Regions from separate parts of the Homo sapiens genome. Here region 2 is linked to region 1. The links are contacts of gene promoters, found by promoter capture Hi-C in human tissues and cell types (Jung and others, 2019). All regions are on one chromosome and are shown on one strand. The core of a region is centred on a gene start or on the middle of the fragment in contact, and the rest is flanking DNA. Distances in the headings are between cores, read along the strand shown.

Region 1 (4,803 bases), core at 703-3,202:
ATGCAGAAAACTACCCAGATGACCTGAGCCACATAAGAATACACAAAACTCACACAGGTACAATCCTCAAACCTTACCAGTGACCTCAGTTCACTGCCTGAGTTATGAGCCACACCCATCCACATCTGGTGTAATAAATTTCCCCCGATTTCAAATAATGCTTCTTCTGCCATTTCACAACCCTTAAGCTGTGACCTTTCTGAGGCCCATTTCCACAAGCAAATGCCGTGTCTTTTTCAAGATAAAGGGTTATATTTGCTGTAGTATTTATGCATTTCTTAAGCATTTATCATGTGTAAATTCTTGCTACCATTTTTATTAGGTCTTGATCTGATTTTTATGGTCCATTGACAAAGTTTCTGAGTGCTCTGTCCTAAACCTCATGTTACCCATTAAGTCCTGTAGTTTTAATTGAACTTTTTTTTTCAGTGATACCGTATCTAAATAAATCCCTGGTGGTTACCAGGTGAATATAAATAAGTGTGTATATGCATACATACATTCATACATATATAATATTCGAACACAATTGAGGCATTTTGACATAAATCCAAAAAATTCCTTTTATATTTTAGAGGTAAATAAGCCTTTAAAAGTATTTATTAAATGTACTTGGGAGGATTTATTCAAAAAAGACTATCAATTATATTAAATAAAAGCCATTCAATACGCCAAGCTATATATAGATGTCTCCATAGTGGGTGAAGATGTGTCATTTATCTTTTAAGATAATTATGCAAACTATATTGAGCACACACATCCTGAGCTGGGAAATGACTTTTACATCTTTCTCCTCATTTATAAATCTTTTCCAACAGAAGTTATGCAAGATTCAGACTGGTCAGCACAGAGCTGGATTTTGGTGGTCCCTTTACAATAGGAGAGAATCCATTTTCCTCCTTAGGGTCTTTCTTTTCTTTAACGAAGGCATACAGAGCACTCAGCACATTCCCAGAGCTTCTTAGAATTTTTCCCTTGAGAGATCTCAGGAAATATGAGGAAAAACAACTTCAAAAAAATTAATGAAAGGCCTATCACTGTCTGCCTTTCTCTCTTTTAATCCCTGCCCTATCCTTTCTACTTTCTAGAAGTGTAGTGCCCCTTCAGTTTCAAACATTTTTCCTCTCCTTAAATTCCCAAGGTGGGATGCCCTTTTCTGGCACTCCGTCTATGAAAGGGACAGGGAAAAGATCTTATAGAAACTGAACCCTGACACGGGGCTTATTTTCCTAAGGACCAAAACATAAAAGGACAGGGTGGGACCATGGAAGGATTAATTTCAGGCAAGGGCAGCCTGTGGAGAGTGAGAAATCTGAAAAGGCTCTAGGCTTCTATGGGCATTCCCCTCCACTTCTTCTGCCTGCTGCCAGATGACTCTCACATGTGAATCCTTATTTCCTCAGGAATGCGGATCAGGGTTTGGCAAGTATGTTTTCAGTAAATAATTGCTGAATGTTCAACGCTTAAAGGCAGAAGCATAACTTTGAGTGTGCACAGTAATCACTGAAAATGATTCTGTACTCACCGTTTTGATGCAAATGCAAATTCTCATAGCCCCTGCACTGACTCCGTGGGTCACCTGTGAGTAACTCTAGCCAAAAGCCACGCACAAGCCCTGGTCTGCCTCCAGGCAGCAGACCACAACACAGTGCCCTGAGTGCACCTGCACACACCCATGGGCACACATTAAACCCATAAACGGCGGGTTATGCTAACGTGTACTTCCTTCCTCACTGCCTCACCTTGTTCATTTTCCTTTTTCCCCACCCCTCACCCCATACAATAGGATTTTTGTTTGCTTCAGTAGCATGTGACAGCACAGTCCCTGCTTTGCCTAGCTCTGTGCTGCAAGTCTCTCAGGTAACAGGTGGCAGCTTCCCCTGTTGGATTCTAGGTTTAAAAAAGAATGACCTCATGTGGGTGGAGCTCTGGGACTTCGTAGAGGTGGTGGCAGTCACAGCCAGGTAACCCTGGAGTGAAGCGGTTTAGTTAGAAGGGAGCAGATAAACTCGTCACTCTAGTAGCTTTAACCCTCACCCTGAGGCACCTTAGCAATCAGCCATTGCCTGCAAGCCTCCAAAGCTTGTCTTTGCCTAATATGGAGCCCAAAGAAGCCACTGGGAAAGAAAACATGGTCACCAAGAAAAAGAATCTGGCCTTCTTGAGGTCTAGACTCTATATGCTGGAGAGAAGGAAGACTGACACTGTGGTTGAGAGCAGTGTTTCTGGGGACCACTCTGGCACCTTGAGGAGGAGCCAATCTGACAGGACCGAATACAACCAGAAATTACAAGGTAACCAAAAAGAAATCAATTGTCCCAGTTACTGCACTCCCAGCTCCATTTCTGCTACGTTTCCAATTGCAAAGAAAACACACAAGGCAGAGGGGAAAATTGAATACCACCTCTCCTTCCCACAAAATAAGAAGATGAAAGTAAATGTGACCTATAAATTATAGGGAAAAAAATTTATTACGTGATTCAATGTTAAAGAGTCAATTCCGAATTACTCTTAATATTGCTGTGTTTTTCTTTTTTTTTTCCTGGTGAGGGTAATCATTTTTCTTCTAACTTCCTCTTTTCTTCTCCCTTCTCTACCCAACTTAAGAAGTGGGAAACACTGGAAAGCAAATGAGTTAGAAACCTACAAAAGATTGTTTATCTCAATGGGTAGATATGTGATATTACACCATGAGATATATCTAGGTAATGGTACTGAACTATGATTGTGGTTATCTTAAATAGGGGCATGAAACTATAATCGTGTCTGTGACAAAGAAGGAATGTTATAGTCAGAGAGACGGTATAAAAAGATTTGCTGAAATTCACTTAGGTGATTATTTCCTTTGAGTAAATTGAATAATACTCAAATATGGTAAGAAATGTTTAGCATGCTTATTTTGAATGACATTTGAGGAAATAACTTCAGTTTATTTTGTGATGGTACAAAGATAATTTGGCACAGTTATGATAGCACATCATTTGTTTCAGGGCCTTAATCTATATCCTGTCCTATCTATCCTTTCTTTCTCTCCTGTTTCCTGAAGGTCATTTGTTCTAGTAAAATTTCATTTTGATGTTGATATTGGGCAGCATTTTAAGTCTTTTCTTCGGTACTTGTTATGTGGTCCTCCAGAACTTGCCTCTCCTGCTTTTAGCACAAGGTGTGTCTGAACTCTCATCATCCCACTGTGAGCTGTCGTTTTGGATTTAAAAACTGTGATGAGGTCAGAAAGACCGATAGGACATGCTTATATTTAACAAATCTCTTTCCACAAATATGAGCTTAGATTTAGTTATGCAAATTAATTAAGTTAAATAAGTTAAATTAAATGCATTTAAATTAAATCTAAAAATTATTACTATAAGTTAATGTGTAAAAATAAAAAAAAAATTACCAGTAGTTCAGCACTAAAGCACAGCATCAATCTTATCCTCAAATACTTTTTTTTTAAAATGAGGGAGAGCATTGTTTAATCTTTGAAATTAATTTTTCTCCAAGCAATAGATACATTGGAAAGAATGGATGTCTTAAAATTTCAACTTTTATTTTAGATTCAGGGGGTATATATGTGTGTTTGTTACTTGCGTATTTTGTGTGATGCTGCGATTTGGGGTACAAATGATCTCATCACCTGGGTACTGAGCATAGTACCCAGTAGGTGGTTTTTCAGCCCTTGCCTCTGTCCGTTTCTCGCCACTCCAGTAGTCTCCAGTATCTATTGTTGCCACCTTTATGTCCATGTATGTCTAATGTTTAGCTCTCACTCATAAGTGAGAACATGCAGTATTTGGTTTGCTGTTCCAGCATTAATTTGCTTAGGATAATGGCCTCCGGTTGTATCCATGTTGCTGTAAAGGACATGATTTTGTTCTTTCTTCTGGCTGTGTAGTATTCCATGATGAATATGTACCATGAGAATTTAAAATCATACACATTTAGTTTCTAAACCTGGTTCTTCAACTTACTACCAATTAGAACTTGAGCAAATTACTTGAAATATCTGAGCCTCAATTTTCCTGTCTGTGAAAGTGGGACTAATGATACTTGCCACATAGTGTTGTTGGGAGATTGAAATTAGATAATTACAAAACATCTAGTATACTGGCTGATAAATTTTAGGAATAATGGGTACCATAATGATAAAACAGAACTTGCCCAATATTAATCGAAGTTTGTATACCTTATTTCTCTTTTTCAATTCTTTTTTGTCCTTTGATAAAGAGACCACATCTAGAAATTCAGGAAAAGCCCATTGCTTTATCCCTAATGACATGTTTTTTCTGTCTGAGTTTCACTAATTCAGCATCTATCAGAGTCTCCATTAGCAAAATAAAAACAGAAAATAATTTTTGCTATTCACAAATTTTTGCTTACTAAATTTTCCTAAAAAAATAAGTCTATGACCACACAAGAGAGCAGACATGGGTTGGTTACTTTGCAGAAGACCTCAGACTTCTTACGCACTTCATTTGATTTGTGGCTTTCCTGTGCTCTGTTGGATTCTTTGAAGGTGGAAGGCAAAACTCAGCAGTTAATACATGCTTCTAGTCTGTGCTTGAGAAAAATCACCAAGAAGTATAGAGGAGCACATAAGCCATAAAGATAGGCTGGCCTCCTGAGAAGTAACATCTTAAAAACGTAACCCTTAAAAGAATCCAAGTCTGATTATCGAACGCCTAATAGAGCTTTTAGCATGGTTCGACTAGAACAGGGAAGGCGACAAGGGAAGGCATTTTCTCATTAATGTTCAAAGCAATCAGTTCTGTGCGTTTGTTCTCTGGCCTGTACGATACCCATTAT
Region 2 (4,803 bases), core at 1,368-3,867, 130 kb after region 1:
TAAAACTGAATAACTTGATATTAACATGTAACATTACTGAATGCACACTATATGCCAGACATTGTTCTAAGTGCTTTATATGTAGTAACTTGTTTAATATTCAAAACATTATGAAGAAACCATGGCCCAAAAAGGTGAAGTAATTTAATCCAAATCACATTGCTATTAAGTGGTGGGCCTGGACTTAAACCTAGGTAGTGTAAACCAAAAATAAAATTCTAAGGCTTCCAACCATCTAAATAGACTTCCCCTTCAGCCAGGGCTTTTTTCTTTCTTTTCTTGTTGTTTTTTTTTTTTTTTAAAGAGACAATAAAAGGAGGTTTTTTTATTCAAAGGTATAACTGGATAAGTAGATTTGTTTACAATCATTCTTGTGAAATACTTTTTTAAAAAAATACGATCAACTTCTTTGCAAATAGTAGACACATACCTCAACAATGATGACCTAATTTTTGATCCATAATGTAAGATTAGGTAGAAATAGGCAAGCTCACACTGCTAAATTAACTATCAAATACTCAGTCAAAACTCCATTTGTGGCCCCCACTTCTTGATCTATTTCTGTTCCACTTCGTCTTCTACCATCTTGCCGACTTTCCTGAGCAACTGCTTTGTCGACTCTCTCTACCTGACCAATTGCCAGATCGACAACCTGACTGGCCTGACCAGCCACTCCTCTGTCTGGAATTAAAAGATGTTTCCATCATAATATTCTTTAATTTCAGGTAATTTAGCTGGCACTGAGAGTATCCAGCCGGAATCATGCCACTTTGCCTGTAACCTTTGACTCAATTGGAGGAATATCAAAGCAAACACCCATATTTCCTTTCAGGAGGCACACTCTGGTAATCTGAGACACTGCATTACTATTCAGCTTTCTAAGTTCTTTCCAAGCACAGCTGACATCCTGTATTTCCTCTAGGCTTTCCAGAGTCATGGTCACAAACCCCTTATCAGAGTTGATTAAAGATCATGGTTCAAAGCTTGATACACCAGAAATGTGGGCTAAAGCTGCAGCCAATGCATCTATCGCCCCTTTCTCTTCTATCAGTATCTGAGCTGATGGTTGGAAAAAAATCAACAGCAGCATAAGAAATGGAAGCCAGAGACCTTATGGCATCCATGCTTTTAAATTTAACTAAATCCATTGTAGAAGGAACACCTACACATTTAAAAGTAATTTGTGTTTTTTGTTCCACATGTCTTAGTTGACCTTTCTCTTGGTTGATAAAAACATATACAAACCCCTGTCTGTCCAGCTTTACCCACGCATCCAGAGAGATGGATATAGGACTCAATATCCTGAGGAGGAGAACTTTGAATCACCAGGTCAACTACAGGAATGTCCAAACCACGAGGAGCCACATTGGTTGCCACCAAAACTTTATAATTACCTCTCTGAAGCCTTTTAGTGTAATTTCTCTTTGTGACTGTGCAATGTCCCCATGTAAACACAGTGCATTCTGTTTTGTGCGGATTCATGGCCATGTCAGTTACATTCTTCTTCGTCTCACAGAAAATAATAGCCCTCCCTTCAGATCCACTGTAGACTTGAAGGACATCTCATTTTCATCTGTGTTTTATAAAGGAGGAAATTGAGGACCTCACATGGAGGGACTGGAATTTAAAACCAGGTCTTCTGACTTTAAGGCCTTTCTTTTAGTGTTTTCCCTTTTCTTTTCCTTAAGTCACTAAAATCTGTAGTTATATAATCTTACATAAAGCATATGCAAAATAGAAAAATGATAGTCACCACATATCTACTAATGGGATTAAAATGTACAATCCTAAAAGCTTACTTGTTAGCACACTTGCTTATCTGTCCATTCATTCATTGAACCAGTAAGTATTTATTGAGAGTTAGTGGGAATACAATGCTGTGCAAGACAAACAAGATCCCTCCATTCATACCACTTAAATTCTAGTGGGGAAAACATCTGCACATAACAAACTAAATAAAATGATCATAAAATAATAAATGCTATTTATATAAAACTGGCTACTTTCATTACTGCTCAGTTAAAGGGTCTTGTAGCTCATTTTATGACATGAAAAAAATCAAGGTCTAAAAGCTCCTTGAGACAATTTAAACTCTAATACCAAATATACCTCTATAAAATACCAAACTGAGCTAAATACGGTATATGTGTACTTATACATATGTACATAACCTAAATATACGTGTGCACACATTATCTATACAAAGAGCCATACTCAGTGAAAGATAAATTACCTCCTAAACTAAAGTCCCCTCTGAGGTACAACAGAAATTAAAATAATTGCTTCTCTTCTCAACTCTATGTAGCACGTATTTTCCATGATGGGATAAATGTTTTCATTTCAAGTGCCAATGTGTGAACTGTAATAAACATTACTGCTTTCATTTTTTGTAGGTATGGAGGTTACATTAACTGTTATAGTTGCGGAGCTGAGTTTTTATGTCAGGTAATTTTGTTTAGTCCAAACTGGTTTTGAACTATAAACAATTATGGATATGTATTTTTTGGTTTCTTTGACCCCAAAGGGAAATTGGGGTTTATGTCAAATTGATGTTTTATCAAAATAAATCTGTTTCTCAAAGCAAAAGTCTCTGTAGGATTGAGATAATTCATTATTTACATATAGGGTAAACAGACATTTACTGCCTATTGAGATCATAATTGAGATAATGGATTATCTCAATCCTGGATTCTAATTTACTACAAATAATTTAGCACCATTATTTAACAGAGCAGTTTAAAATAATAATCTTTCCTTAAAAAAAAAAAGACCAAGCTTAATTTTAAAAGCTTTGTGTTTACAGAGATCACCTATCAATATACTTTAGAATAATGATGTTAGAAAAACCTAGGGATTAAGGAAGACAGTTTGAGATTAGAGATTTGTAGAGTGAAGATTTAGTAGCACAAATCAAGTTTGATGGAACAGGCTGTTCATAGTCTTGTGAATGTGTGAATTTGTTGGATATCCAGTTTTTTTGCTGTGAATAATAAACTGTTTCTCTGATGCAGAGGGCTTCCTATCTTCTCTCAGAATATACATGTACAACAATTGCTGGTTAATTTGTTAGCTTGCAAGTAAGACAACAACGCAGACCTTCCACATTTTCTGACTTAACCCACTTATGCCTAGTGTTCCATTATTGCAATGCTCGGCTTATAGAGTTATTTATATCCTACTGTTCAAGGTCATCATCAGGTCTGATTTTTCACCAAAAAAATTTGCAACCTCTGGCATAAATGGGTTAACAATGTACAAAACAATCTCAAGAATTAATCATTATATAGGAGCTTATTGTATACAAAGTTAGCTAAAATTAGGTAAAGTGCTATAACATTTTGAGCACTAAGTAAGATAGCCTTTTCTTTCATGGTATAGGAAGAAGCCATCAGTGTGTGAACAAGTCATATATTTCCATCTGCAAAGACCTTTGTGAAATGGTATTTTTCTTCAAAACTTATCAGGAATGTGCATAACCAAGATGAATCAAAATTCAACATTTATTACGTACTATGTGCATGTATTACATTGGCAATGTAGGAAAAGTGAGCAATGTGAGAAAAAATATTGTATTAAGCACCAGGAGAGTTCACAATTTATTGGAAAAAGATATACCCTTAAATAATTGAAATGAGGTGATAAAAAAGGTAAAGATATAATATGAAGTATGATAAATCAATTAGGAAAATCCATTGATATGAGAAATCAATAATGAAAAAATAATTTTGAAAAAGATGAAATAATTGGGAGGGAGAGGGAGAGTCAGTTGAAATGGGGCTAGCACAGAAAATGAACACCCAGAATACGGGGAGGAAAATAGAAAACTATGTTGGGTCGTCCCTGCCGCCACATAAGGCACCTCATTCATCAGGATCAACTCTTGGGGCTTTGCTAGAAGATGAACTATTTCTTTTTCCTTAAATTCACAGATGCTTTCAATCTTCTGAAGATCTCATTGAGAACCAGTCATTCTAATCATTGTTTTCACACACTATGGAAATCATTAGAATAAAAATGTTGAAGATTGATTTAAAATGAAAGTTTCCAAGTTTTGTTATATAATATTTAGCATTTTAAGGTAAGAAACAATAGAAATTTGATTATGAAGACTTTTATTAAATTACAGTGTATTACAGATTATATCATAATAATAAGCCTTTCATCTTTAGGCTAATATGATACAAAAACCTACTTGGCCACATTACTTCTTGAGTTTCTTTTGGGCAGCTTTCTTCTTGACCATCTGTAATCGCTTCATAGCATTGAGCTGTGATTCTTGTGAAGTTGGGCCTTTAAGGGATGCTGAGGGAGAGCTGCTGGATTCTGAAGTAGTTTTGCTGGTAGTACTTCCACTAGGTCCTGATGTTCCACTATTTCCATTCCCACTTAGTTGGCTGCTGCTTCCTGGAACTAAACTACTTGGACTAGGAAGACCTACTTTGCTGACATTGTCACAACTAACTGAGCGACTAAGGCCAGTTTTACCCAAGGTTAGAGGTGGAGGTGGTTTTAAAGGTACAGTGGGCGTAGTGCTGTTATTGGAACCTATTTTGGAACCTATTCCACCTTTGGATGATGTTGCCAGACCAGTCAAACCCACAGGTTTCTGGTTAGCTGACGAAGTAGCAGGTTTCCCAGTATTGTTTTGTGTTGTTGAACTCAATTTTGCTGTTGAAGGACCAGCAGAGGAAGTTTTGGCTGCAAAAGCTGCCCATCCAGTTAAGCCACTAGTTACTGACGAGGAAACGCTGGCACTAGAAGAATTTCCTGAAATAACTGTGGATGTCTAAAAAAATAAAGTAA

Evidence for each region. The method cuts DNA at HindIII sites, captures the fragments that hold promoters and counts their contacts. A contact is called where the count stands out against the background at its distance.
Region 2: a fragment that was not itself captured here is called in contact with the fragment with the promoter of ARHGEF38 in region 1 in 2 of the 25 tissues and cell types used here (lymphoblastoid cells and small bowel).

What each region holds. Positions count from the first base shown.
Region 1 is chr4:105,550,668-105,555,470 of GRCh38, forward strand. ARHGEF38 (Rho guanine nucleotide exchange factor 38) reads left to right here and starts at 1,953. Exons shown (of 14, transcript NM_001242729.2): 1 at 1,953-2,294. The coding sequence starts at 2,099. It overlaps LOC105377352 (a long non-coding RNA gene), which reads right to left and starts at 1,617. Exons shown (of 5, transcript NR_188418.1): 1 at 1,526-1,617. RefSeq lists an enhancer at 4,561-4,803. The HindIII fragment of the contact is 7,071 bases long and covers 1-4,493 here.
Region 2 is chr4:105,678,532-105,683,334 of GRCh38, forward strand. ARHGEF38 (Rho guanine nucleotide exchange factor 38) reads left to right here. Exons shown (of 14, transcript NM_001242729.2): 14 at 1-2,383. INTS12 (integrator complex subunit 12) reads right to left here. Exons shown (of 8, transcript NM_020395.4): 8 at 4,096-4,786. The coding sequence ends at 4,202. Among named protein-coding and RNA genes, the nearest start is that of INTS12, 28 kb to the right of the region's middle. The HindIII fragment of the contact is 4,608 bases long and covers 314-4,803 here.